Regions from separate parts of the Homo sapiens genome. Here region 1 is linked to region 2. Evidence: promoter capture Hi-C in 16 types of primary human blood cells and fetal thymus (Javierre and others, 2016). All regions are on one chromosome and are shown on one strand. The core of a region is centred on a gene start or on the middle of the fragment in contact, and the rest is flanking DNA. Distances in the headings are between cores, read along the strand shown.

Region 1 (5,571 bases), core at 16-2,515, 820 kb before region 2:
GGAAAGTCCCTATTCCCGGGGACGTGGGCGCGCATCGGGTCCGCGCCGGGCGACGTCGCGCTCGCGCCCAGCAGGCCCCATGACTTGGCATTCCCTCCTTCCCCTCCCCCTCCCGCCCCTGCGGCCGGCAGGGCCCCCCCAACCCCACCTACCGGCGCCCAGCGCCCCGCTCCTGCGGACCCTCCCTCCCGGCGGGGATGCTGCCCCGGCCCTTCCCAGCGAGAGGGCAGCGCGGCTGGTTTGGGGGAAGTCAGCGTGAGGAGCGGCTTAAAGCGGGAGTGCGAAGGTCTTCGCGGCCACTGTTCCTTCGTGTCATCCGAGCCCGGGCGCCGGGGGCGCGCCGCCAGCCTAGACCCTGCGGCCCCGCAGCCCCTCCCTCGCCGCCGGGCCACACCTGTTACAGGGGCGCTGGCTGCTGAGACGCAGGCAGTGCTCGCCGGCGGCCCCTCCCAGGTGCTGGGTCTTTCTGGAAGGGAGCTGGGGTCTCTGGCGTGGGAGGGGGTGATGGGCAGGCCGGCCGTGCAACGAAGCGGGTGGCCAGGCCCCAACGCCGCAGCCCCCGCCCCGCCCGCCTGTTTTGCTCCCGGCTCCAGCATCCGCCCTCCCCCACCCCGGGAACCGGAGCAGCTGCCCGCGCCCGGCCGCCCTGCGCGCTCTCCCCTCGGGCCGAGGCGCTGCAGCCGCGCACCCTCCCAGGTGCGGCGTCAGCGTCCTCAGCCCCGCTCACCATCCCTCCCCTCCCCCGCCGTCTGGGCGCAGCCCCTCCCGCAGCCCCGCCGGTGGCTCCTCTCCAGGGAAGCGGAATAGCCGGGGAAGGGCGGGGGTATCCCGATCCCGCCGGCCGGGCGAGCCCTCCCGAGGGCGACCCCCGCCCGCCTAAGCCGAGGGTCCCGCTGCAGCCGAGATCGCGGCAAAGGGACCTTTTCCAGCGGCACCTGAAGGGCGGACACCCCTGAATTTCCCCCATTGTTCTCTGCGGAGATGGAGGAAGGTCTGGAAGTGAAGGGGCCTCGCAGTGCCTGCGCTTTGGGCGGCAACAAGGGCGCCGGGCCGGAGCTCCCCGCCCTGGGCGCAGTGGGTGCAGGTGCGGGCTGCGGGCGCGGGCTGCCGGGCGCAGGTGCGGGGCGAGGGGCGCGGGCGCGGGAGGCCGGGCGGGCGGCGGCCTTACCTCTCCGGCGTCACTGGCGGCGGCCCCGCATGGGCACTGGCATGGGCGCGGGCTCTCGAGCCCGGAGCTGCTGCCGCTCGCCGGCTGCTCTGCGCTGTGACGGCGCCGCCGCGTGACGGGCTGCGCGCCCCCGGCCCGGACCGCCCCGCGCCCCTCCCGAGGCGCTGGTTGGCTGCGCGCGGCGTCCGAGCTCCAGTCGCCAGCTGGTTTGTCGCGCGGGGAGAGGGACGGGCGACGCGGCCGCCGCGGGGATGGGGCTGGGGACGGAGGGGGCCGGGGCCGGGCTGTGACGTCACCGCTGACACCGCGGCGGGCCCCGCGGAGGGTGGGGGACCGACACCCGGCTCGGACGCAGCGTCCCCTCCCCCGGCGTGCCCCTGAGACCTCGCGGGGGAGGGACCCGGCGGCGCCCCGTCCCGAAGCCCCGCGTGCACCTGAACTTGCCCGCGGACCCCTCGCCGGGCCGTCCCCCACCCTGGCCCCTTTCGAGTGAAATCGTAAAACGTCCACCTGCCCCCGCTCTGAGCCAGCGACAGACGCATCGTGGGGGGCGGGCGGGGCTGGGGAGGGAGGGCTCCTTGCGCCAGGGATGCTGGCTCCGGGTGTAACAGGTGCGCGGTGAAATCGCATCTTGTGTCGGGGCCGGGGCGCCGGGGGAAGAGCAGCAGTGACCCAGGCCCTCCCCGCCGGATGATGCAACCCGCCCGCGGACCCGCCGCCTCGCCTCTACCGCGGCTCGTGGGGACCCCCCGCCCTCCTCTCGCCCCACCTCTCCAGGCCCCCATTGTCCTCACCCCAGCCTGTCCAGTTTAACTTCCTTGGACCCCCAAGTCACACGCCGCTCGGGGGCCACCCCGGCAAACCCCAGCCTGCGTCACCCGCCCCCAGCCGCCTTCCTAGTTCCAGGGGCTGACTGGTATCTCTGTGCGCGCCACCGTCCTCCCTCCACCGTCCCAGGGCTGGGCAACTTCGACAAAGCCTCTGGGCAGCTCGCCCATGGGAACCTCCCCGCACTGCGGTGCGGGGGTGCACGGATTTCGGGCCACCCTGAACCCCGGGGCTGGGTCCCCTCCAGCCCAGCCCCTGCCATCGAGCCCCTGCCATGGGCATCCTGGCGTCGCCTGGCTAAGCCTCCCTGGCGCCCAGCAGGGGCCTGCGCTGCCCTAGCGGCCTCGCCGTTAACCATTTCATCCACACTCCTGGGAGAGCCGGCTTCACCTCAGTCCCGACAGCTGCGTGCGAGCGCCTTGCAGGTGGCTGGGGGAGATTCACATCCACTTCTGCAAGACACGGGCCCCCCACTCCCAGCCCCAGCCCCGCCGAAACCAGCTAGACAGCTCCTCCTCCTTCACTATTTCCTGGAACCGCCGGCATGAAAGAGAAATCAATTGTTCTTCCTAACCCTGGCAGAAACAATAAAACCATCTGGGCTTCTGGGGCTGGGGTCTTTATCACCTCCGTTTTCCTCATGCTTTTTAATCTGGCAAGTTCTCTATTTCTCGAGGCAATAGACATTTTTCTAGGAATTAATCTATTTCACGTTAATATTTAAATGACTAGCATATCTTTTTTTCTTTATATTCTGGCTTTTTATGGTTTTGTTTGTTTGTTTTGACAGGGTCTTGCTCTGTCTCCCAGGTTGGAGTACAGTGGTGCCATCTTGGCTCACTGCAGCCTCAGCCTCCCCAGCTCAAGCAATCCTCCCACCTCAGCCTCCCTAGTAGCTGGAACTACAAGTGTGTGCCACCACGCCCAGCTAATTTTAGCATTTTTTGTAGAGACAGGATTTTGCCCTGTTGCACAGGCTGGTCTCAAACTCCTGAGGTCAAGCCATCCACCCACCTCGGCATCCCAAAGTGCTGGGATTACTGGCATGCATTTGGCCTGTATTTTGTTTTTTGCATTTTTCTCTTTTAATATTTTTAAATATTTTCAGAGCTCCAACTTTTAGTTCTGTTAAACGTCTTTCCCGTTATTTCATTTGCTTCTGTCTTTCTGTATTATTTCCTTCCTTTGTGGTTCTTTGGATTTGATCTGTTCCTCTGTCTTGAACCAAATGCTTAGCTCCTTTTTAAGCCTTCTGATTTTCCAATAGATCTACTGTATTAAAAGCTACAAAATTCCTTCTACAGAACTGTCTTGGCTGAGTCTCACAAATTTGGACATAAAATGTTTTCATTATCATTCATATCTAATATTTTCTACTGTTCCTGATGATCTCCTTTTAAACCCAGGGTTATTTAATAATGTTATTTACTTTTCAATAGTGTTTCTTTAATTATAACCTTTTGTTACCAGGTTCTAATTTAATTGCATTGTTGTCAGAGAACAAGTCTGTATTCAGTCAAGATCCTGGCAGGAAGCAGATGGCACACTCAAATTGGGTAATTTGAGAAGGGTTTGATAAAGAGACTATTGATAAAGGTGTGGGCAGGAGGTCGGAGAGCCCCAGGGGCTTGGTGGCACTGCAGCCTTACTGCCTGCAGGGAGCGGGGCGGGCAGAAGCAGAGGCTCAGGTGGAGGGGTGCAGCCAGCCAGAGTTTCCTAGGAAGGGAGCCAGGGCAGCAAACCCTGGACCTCACTCTCCCTCTTCCCCTGATCTGGTAGTGCTTTGGCTGAACCCAAGGGGAAGCTGGAGGTCAGGGGCACCCAAGGAGTATGGTGCATTTCGGGTGGTCTCCTGAAGAATGGGCAAAGGGAACTTAGAAGCACAAACAGAAACTAGCTGCCCAGTCTGCATGGCCCTGTGCCTCTGGAATTCATTGAGGCTTCTTTAGGTCCTAACACATAGTCTATTTCATACATGTTCTACCTGTGTTCAAAATGGTTGTACTCTCTGCTTGATGGGCAGAGAGTTCTCTATATTATGTATTAGTTCAAAATTATTAATTCTTGACTCAGTAAGGTAAGATCCCAGATAGAAAAGCTTTTTAAGGTTATTAATCATTTTGATCAGGATTTGGAGATTTCTGCTAATTTTTGTCAATGTGAACTATGCTTATTATTTTTTAAAATTTCCAGTTAGAATTGTTAAAATATCTGCTTCTCCCAGCAGTTCCGGCACATGTTGCTTGCTGTGTATTGTGGCCATATTTTTAGATATTAGAATGATTGTGATAGACATGCATTATCATTCTGTGGCTCCTTGCGCCCATATGTATGTGTGCCCTTCTTTGTCTGGCGTTTGGAGTTTTTAAATTTTTTGCCTTAAATTTGAATGTCATACATTACATGTCAATCCAGTTTTCTTTGGTTCATATTTGCTTGCTATGTCTTTTGCCAACTTTCTTATTTTAAGCTTTTTGTATCTTTTTAAAGCGTATCTCTTTTAGGCAACCCATTGTGTAAATTTTTAAATGTAATCTGTCTCTGCCTTTTAATTGGAATTTAACCCACTTACATTTACAGCAATTACTGTTATATCAAGACTAAGCTTTGCTGCCTGTTCCCTGACTGCTCCTCATCAAAGACAGAGTCTGAGATACCAGTGCTGGCCCCTCCGTCCCACTCAAGACCCCTCCGACGGGCAGCTTTATCAGGGACACCCATCAGCTTGGCCGAAAGCTTCTGGGAGGGGGACTGCAGTCTGAGACTCTTCCTACCCAAGCCCCTTCCTTCCCTGTCTCTTTTGCAGGCCTCAGACCTGCCTCAGGATCTGAAGCTCTTCTGCCTGCACCTGCTCCCTCCCCTCTATCCTGCATGGGCTTACTCCCAATCACCACTCGCCCCTCCTCTAATGCCACAGAGACATGGACTGACATGGATCCCCGGGGAGCATGTTTTTCTCTCCAGCTGGCCATATTCCTTGGGCGTCGAGTGACTCTGGCCTGTGAGCGCCCAGTGGTGTCGGGACAGCAGCTGCTCTACTGGCAGCCTGCAGTGGGGAGGCACAGAAGCCAGGCCCATACAGGGAAGGCCTGGAGTGCAGGCTCCTTCCTGAAACTGATCACCACTCCTTGCTGCCTCCCTCCCCAGAGCCCACAGAGGAGCCACTTCCCTACCTTGTGCTGCATCATGCTGTAGCATCTGAGAGGAGGCTCTCTGGACAGCTCTCTGTTGTCTCCAGGGCCGTCCCACCCAGGAGGACCTCGCAGCTCCCTAACAGTCCCCGTGATGGCTTCCTGTGGTCCAGGCCATCCCAAGACGGGCAGGAGAGCAGGACTAAACTGTGTCTCTCCTGCCCGTCCCCCTTGCCCTGGCTGCAGCCTCCACCCACTTCACAGACCTCATCTATTTTTCCAGTGGGAAAAGGCCCAGTAACAGAACATGCGGGGCCCAGTGCAAAATGAAATAAAGCCGCCTTGTTCAAAAGCCTGGCAAAGTGCAGTTAAAGGTGCTAAATATACAAACCTCTTCCTCCATTCCCCAGGCTCTCTTGATTAGCCATGGTGTTTTCTTGCTAT
Region 2 (5,620 bases), core at 3,121-5,620:
AGAGCTTCCTCCTGAGAGCGCAGGGAGCTTGTGACACCTCCCAGAAATGCTCAGGGGACGCTGGCCACCTTGCAGAGAAACCCCTCCTAACGGGAAGGGAACATGGGTACGCGAGGCTCCGGTACTGACCGCGGCTGGGCGACAGCAGGCTACTTGGATAGGGGACGCTCACTCTCCTCAGCTCATCCAGCTTCTCCTGTAGCTTCCGCACCTGGCTGTCGGAGCGGCTGACCCTCTGCCGCAGGCTCTTCAGCTCGCCGTTCTTCTTCTCCACCTGCTCCCGCAGGCAGCACACCTGGCTCTTGTTCTGCCGGGAGGAGAAGCAGTAGGAGTGCAGTGAGTCGATGAGCTTGCAGGCCCCTGACGCCGACAGGATGACCTCGTTGATGGACATGGGGCTGGCGTCGCTGTGCTCGCTCTGCACGGCTTCCGTGGCTGGCTTTGGGGTGACGTCGGCAGGAGGGGCAGAGGGGCTCTGGGAAGGCTTCTGCGGTGTCGCGGTAAGTGATGAGCTGGGAGGGCTCTGGGCCAGGCCCTTGTCGGGTCCCAGGCTGCTCCCACTGCAGCTTGGTTCCACATCTTTCTTCAGCCTCTTGCGGTCAATGGGCTCTCGGGGGACAGATGGCCTTTCTCGGGTGTGCTTAGAGGAGAAACTGTACGAATGAAGTGAGCCGATAAATTTGCACGCCCCAGATCCTGGGGGCGTAAAGTCATCCATAGAAATGCCACTCTTATCTGTCACGCCCCCTTCGATGGAGGAAGTGGCGCTCTCATCGCCAGCATCTGTGGCAGACGCTTCTGCTTTTCCCTGACTGCCTGCCACCATGGTGGCCAGTCCATCTCCTGGAGTCCGTTCCAGAGCTTGCTGGGCCTGCTCCTGGCTGGCGGCCTCCTGGGCCGCCCTGGGTGTGGCTTCACCTTGCAGAGCAGCTTGCTTCAACCTGCGGGACTCTGGCTTGGCCATCGGGTTTCCACTCGAGGACGGTGACCAACCTGCAGCTCCTCTGCTGGTGGCGGCACTCGAGTGTCCCCTCACACCCCCTGTGGCCTTGCTGGCATCTTTTCTCCGGGTGCGGCCATGGCCTCCAGCCCCCCTCTTCTTCTCGGTCAGGTGGAAGATGGATGGCACGGCCGTGGGCTTCAGCAGGCGATGCTGGTCCTCCAGCCTCTTGGAGAAGCTGTCTTTGGTGAAATGCTCACTACAGAGAAATGAATACTTAGTGGGAGTCCAGTTATCCCTCTGAACAGCTTTTAACCATTGGATTAGACGTTTTGAGTCCTTTAGGGGGAACCTACAGGACAAATGACAAAAAGTAATTAGAAATAATTAAATGTCTCCCCTTAAAATAATCAACTGTAAAAGCAAAACAAGTATTTTTGCACGCACCCTAAGCCGTATTGACTTCATCCACTTAAAAAAATACTTCAAAAAGATTTAAAGAACATCTTCTACCTGCAGTTATTACTGGAGTAGAAATCTGAAAGACCCGTTGTCTACCCATACAGAGCTTATAGTCTGTAGGGCGGATGGGAAAGAAGGTAACCAACTGCTCCCCAGGCTGTGGTAAATGCCCAATGGGGACACAGGATGCTGACAGACAGTGCCAGGATGGCCTCAGGACAGCAGGAAATAGCTCCTAGAAGCTGACTGCTAACCAACCCTCCCAACTTGCCTGGAAGGTAGGACTCTGGGTACCAAAACCAGGGCCAGCATCCACAGACACTAGGGCGTGAGAGGTCAGGACTGCATGGAGGCAGCCCTGGCTGTGCGCAAGCAGCTGAGAATCTGGAGACCTCCAGAAGACTCCAGAGCTACAGTTCTGTGTTCCTGTTGCATGCCCACCTCCAGGAGTAAAAATGCTCCTTTTAAAAGTCAACCAGCCCAGGGACAGGGCACAATGGTGCTCACCTGCAGTTCCAGTTACTTGGGAGCCTGAGGCTTGAGGGTTCTTTGAGCCCAGAAATTCGAAGTTACAGTGAGCTAAGACTGCACCACTGCTCCCCATCCTGGGGAACAGAGTGAAACCCGGTCTTCTCCCCTCAAAAAAAATCAACCAACTCAGATGATCCTTGAGGACATTATACTGAATGAAATAGGGCAGGTGCAAAAAAACAAACACTGCATGATACCACTCACATGAGGTACTCAGAGTAATCAAATTCATAGAGACAGGAGAATGCGGGTTCCCAGAGCCTAGGGAGAGGAGGACTGGGGTATTAATGTTTAATGAGTCCAGAGATTCCGCTTTACAAAATAAAAATAATTCTGGAGGTGGATGGTAGTGACAGCTGCACAACAACGTGAATGTATTTGTTGCCATGAATTGTACACTGAAAAAGCGGTAGGAAAGGCTGGGAGCCGTGGCTCATGCCTGTGATCCCAGCTACTCTGGAGGCTGAGATGGGAGGACCACTTGGGTCCAGGAGGCTGAGGCTGCAGTGAGCTACGGTCATACCATTGCACTCCAGCCTGGGTGACAGAGTGGGACTCTGTCTCCAAAAAAAGTTAGGATGGTAAATTTCATGTTACATGTATTATACCATAATTTAAAAATGGTGAGAAAAAAGCAACCAGCGCAGGAAGATACTGAATAGGATGTTTAGTCATTTCTTTATTACCTAATAAAGATCCTTCATAACCATTTCTTCATTAAGGCAAACTCTGTGTTTAAGAACATAGGCCTGGGCCGGGCGGGGTGGCTTATGCCTGTAATCCCAGCACTTTGGGAGGCCGAGGCGGGTGGATCACTTGAGGTCAGGACTTTGAGGCCAGAGTTCGAGACCAGCCTGGCCAATATGGTGAAACCCTGTCTCTACTAAAAATACAAAAAAATTAGACAGGCGTGGTGGCGCTTGCCTGTAATCCCAGCTACTTGGGAGGCTGAAGCAGGAGAATAGCTTGAACCCAGGAGCGGGGGTTGCAGTGAGCCGAGATCGCACCAATGCACTCCAGCCTGGGCGACAGAGGGAGACTCCTTCTCAAAAAAAAGAGAAAAAAAGAAAAAAAAACCAGGCCCTAATGTGCACATAAGGGACAGGGTGGTCAGTTCTAACTGCTATTTGCTCCACCTGAGGCCAGTGTGGACCAGGACAAATCCTAACAGGATGGACTGGGCCGTTCTAAGCAACAGGACCTTCTAACCTCCTTTCTGAACACTGTGAGGCCAACTGCAAAGGTACCCCCCCACCCCCAATTCCGATGTCCTTTCCTCCCATACCATGTTAGACCGTTGCAACACGTTGCCTCGTTTTCAAAAAACAATAACAAAACTTCTAGGACACAAGCTCTGAAGGAAATTGTCAAGAAAGTGCGCTGGCTGACTTGTGAAATAATCTAATGTTACTAATTCTTATAATACATTGTAATGATTTAAGACTTACAGCAAACTACTGTGAACTTTCAATAACCCTATAAATAACACGTGCCATTCCCGTCTTTAAAACTTAAATAACACCATGCAACATAAAACAGAAACATCTCCAAAGTGGTTTTTAAAGTCTGTTCGCGGTTCTGGTGCCTCCCGCGTGTAATCCGCAGAAATCTCACTGAAATAGGCTGAACTCACAAGGCCTTAGAGGGGTTTGGGCCCTGCCGCGGGGGCCCACGTGGGAAGCGGCCGAGAGCCCCGGGCCAGGCTCTAAGGGAGCGCAGGAGGATGCCGTCCCCAGCCGGCCGTCCCGTAGACTCTCCGCGCGTACCCGCGTCCTGGGCTCGGGGGCCCAGTCCCGGAAAGCCCTCTCGGGGGCTGTCAGCTACGGAGGCGCAGGTCGCGTCTGCCCGGTCGCTCCTGCTCGCAGACATCCAGGCCGACGGCCCGCGCGGTCCGGAGAGTCAGCAGTCGCGGCCGAGCAGGACAATCGGCCCAGGACCTGCGCTTCCAGAGCGTGCGGCTTCTGAAGCCTAGGCGCCGGCCGGATCGATCGCGCGCAGGGCGGACCCAGGCGGCCGGGGTGGGGGCGGCTGCGCTGCCCGAGGCGCCCGGCCCAGAGACGGCGGCCGGGCCAAGGTCACACAGCGCCCACGCCCGCTCCCCCGCGCCCCGGCCGCCGAGGCCCGGCGCCCCCGCCCCCCGCGTTCGGGCCGGCCGCGGGGCCTCAGTTTCCCCGCAGGGCCGGGTCGGGGCGGGGGCGTGGCGGCCCGGGGCCCGCGTACCTGTGGAAGGAGACGGCGCGCTTCTCGCCCTTTCCCTGCCGGTTGGAGCAGTTCACGGCCGCACAGCAGATCACCATCGCGGGCCTTGGCCCAGCCGCGCAGCCAGGCCCCGGCCCTAGCCGCCCGCCCGCCCGCGGACCGCCCCGAGGGAGGGAGCGCGGCGGCGACACGGCTCGGGACGTGGGCCGGCCCGCGGCGTCCGCGCCGTACGGCAAGATGGAGGCGCAGGCGCCCGCAGCGGGCCCGCCCCCGCCCCAGCCCCCGCCCGCGTCCTCGCCAGCCGCGGGTTCGGGCGTCTTCGGACCAGCGGGGCGCCGCAGGCCCCTCGCAGCGTCCGTCGGCAGGCGGGCAGACGGGCGGGGGAGTCGCCCCGGCGGGGCAAGTCCGTACCGCGACATGGGCGCGCCGAGCACGTCCGTACCGCAAGATGGCTGCTCGGACGGGGACAGAGCTCGCCTCTGCCGCCTCGACAACTGCTCCTGGGTCCTCTAAGAGGAGGAAGCGCCACCCATGGCACACAGTGTCCCGTCGGACAGCAGAACCAGCCGTCGTCCCACGACACGACCCCATGCCGCCCGCAGGGCGCCCCGGGGCTCGCGTCGGCCCGGCCGTACGCCAAAATGGCGGCTCCCGCGTATTTCCGCTCGCGCGCCGTATCGTCTTCGCCGCCTGCGCCGGCACACCTATTGGCCCCCGCGGCGTCCCGTCGCCGCGTCGCGTTGCTGGCCCGTCGGAGCGACGCCGCTCGGGTCAGTCGGCGGCCGGACTGGGAAGATGGACGCAGGTGAGGAGTTGCCGGGGGTCGGTCTTTCCGCAGGAGGTGCTCGCCTTATCATTGGCCTCCCCTGCTCGGGTCGGGCTGCCGCGACTCGCCTCGGGGCACGCCGGTGCGGGCCAGGCTGGGCCGGGGCGGCGGGCGCTGCGGGAGCGCGGGGCGGTGTTGGTGGGTGGTGGGCGGTGGGAGCGGGAGGGGGACGGCGGCGCACTGCGCCGCGGAACCCGCCGTCGGTTGCGCTGGAGCTTCTGCTTTTCCGGTCCCGTCCGGAGCGCTCCGGAGGTTGTGGCTGCACAGGCCCTTGCGCCAGGTCGGCCGTGGAGGGCGGCGGAGCCTGCCGGGCGGGGAGAGGCGCGGCGGCGAACGGGGCGGCCGCGGTCCGGGCCGGGGACGCGAGCGGCGGGCGAAAGCGTAGCCTTTCCGCAGCTGAGCGTGAAGGGATGGAAGCTCTTTAACTTTTATGAAGTTATTGGTAGGTTGGAGGAGAGAAACGTGACGTGTTCATCACAGTATACGTATCTTTTTTGTTTTTGTCTTCAATTTAGTAACCAGTAGATTCTCCAAGCTGCTTTTCCGTGACGAGAAAGAGAAACAGTGAATTTGTATCATCGGGTCTTAGTTTCTTGGGGTCCTAAGAGAGAGAGAAAGAGAAGGAGTGTGTGTGTGTGTGTATAGGGAGTGTTGGTTTTTTT

What was found. The method cuts DNA at HindIII sites, captures the fragments that hold promoters and counts their contacts. A CHiCAGO score of 5 or more calls a contact.
Region 1: a contact is called between the fragment with the promoter of KIF1A here and the fragment with the promoter of THAP4 in region 2, in 1 of 17 cell types (M2 macrophages). The highest score is 7.7, in M2 macrophages.

What each region holds. Positions count from the first base shown.
Region 1 is chr2:240,818,954-240,824,524 of GRCh38, forward strand. It overlaps KIF1A (kinesin family member 1A), which reads right to left and starts at 1,266. Exons shown (of 49, transcript NM_001244008.2): 1 at 1,169-1,266. RefSeq lists an enhancer at 1,678-2,252. The HindIII fragment of the contact is 8,764 bases long and covers 1-4,092 here.
Region 2 is chr2:241,632,788-241,638,407 of GRCh38, forward strand. It overlaps THAP4 (THAP domain containing 4), which reads right to left and starts at 4,371. Exons shown (of 6, transcript NM_015963.6): 1 at 4,154-4,371; 2 at 130-1,292. The coding sequence starts at 4,230. It overlaps ATG4B (autophagy related 4B cysteine peptidase), which reads left to right and starts at 4,906. Exons shown (of 13, transcript NM_013325.5): 1 at 4,906-4,937. The coding sequence starts at 4,928. RefSeq lists silencers at 3,894-4,033, 4,104-4,173, 4,204-4,553, 4,924-4,973, 4,994-5,183 and 1 more and an enhancer at 4,527-5,454. The HindIII fragment of the contact is 17,924 bases long and covers 1-5,620 here.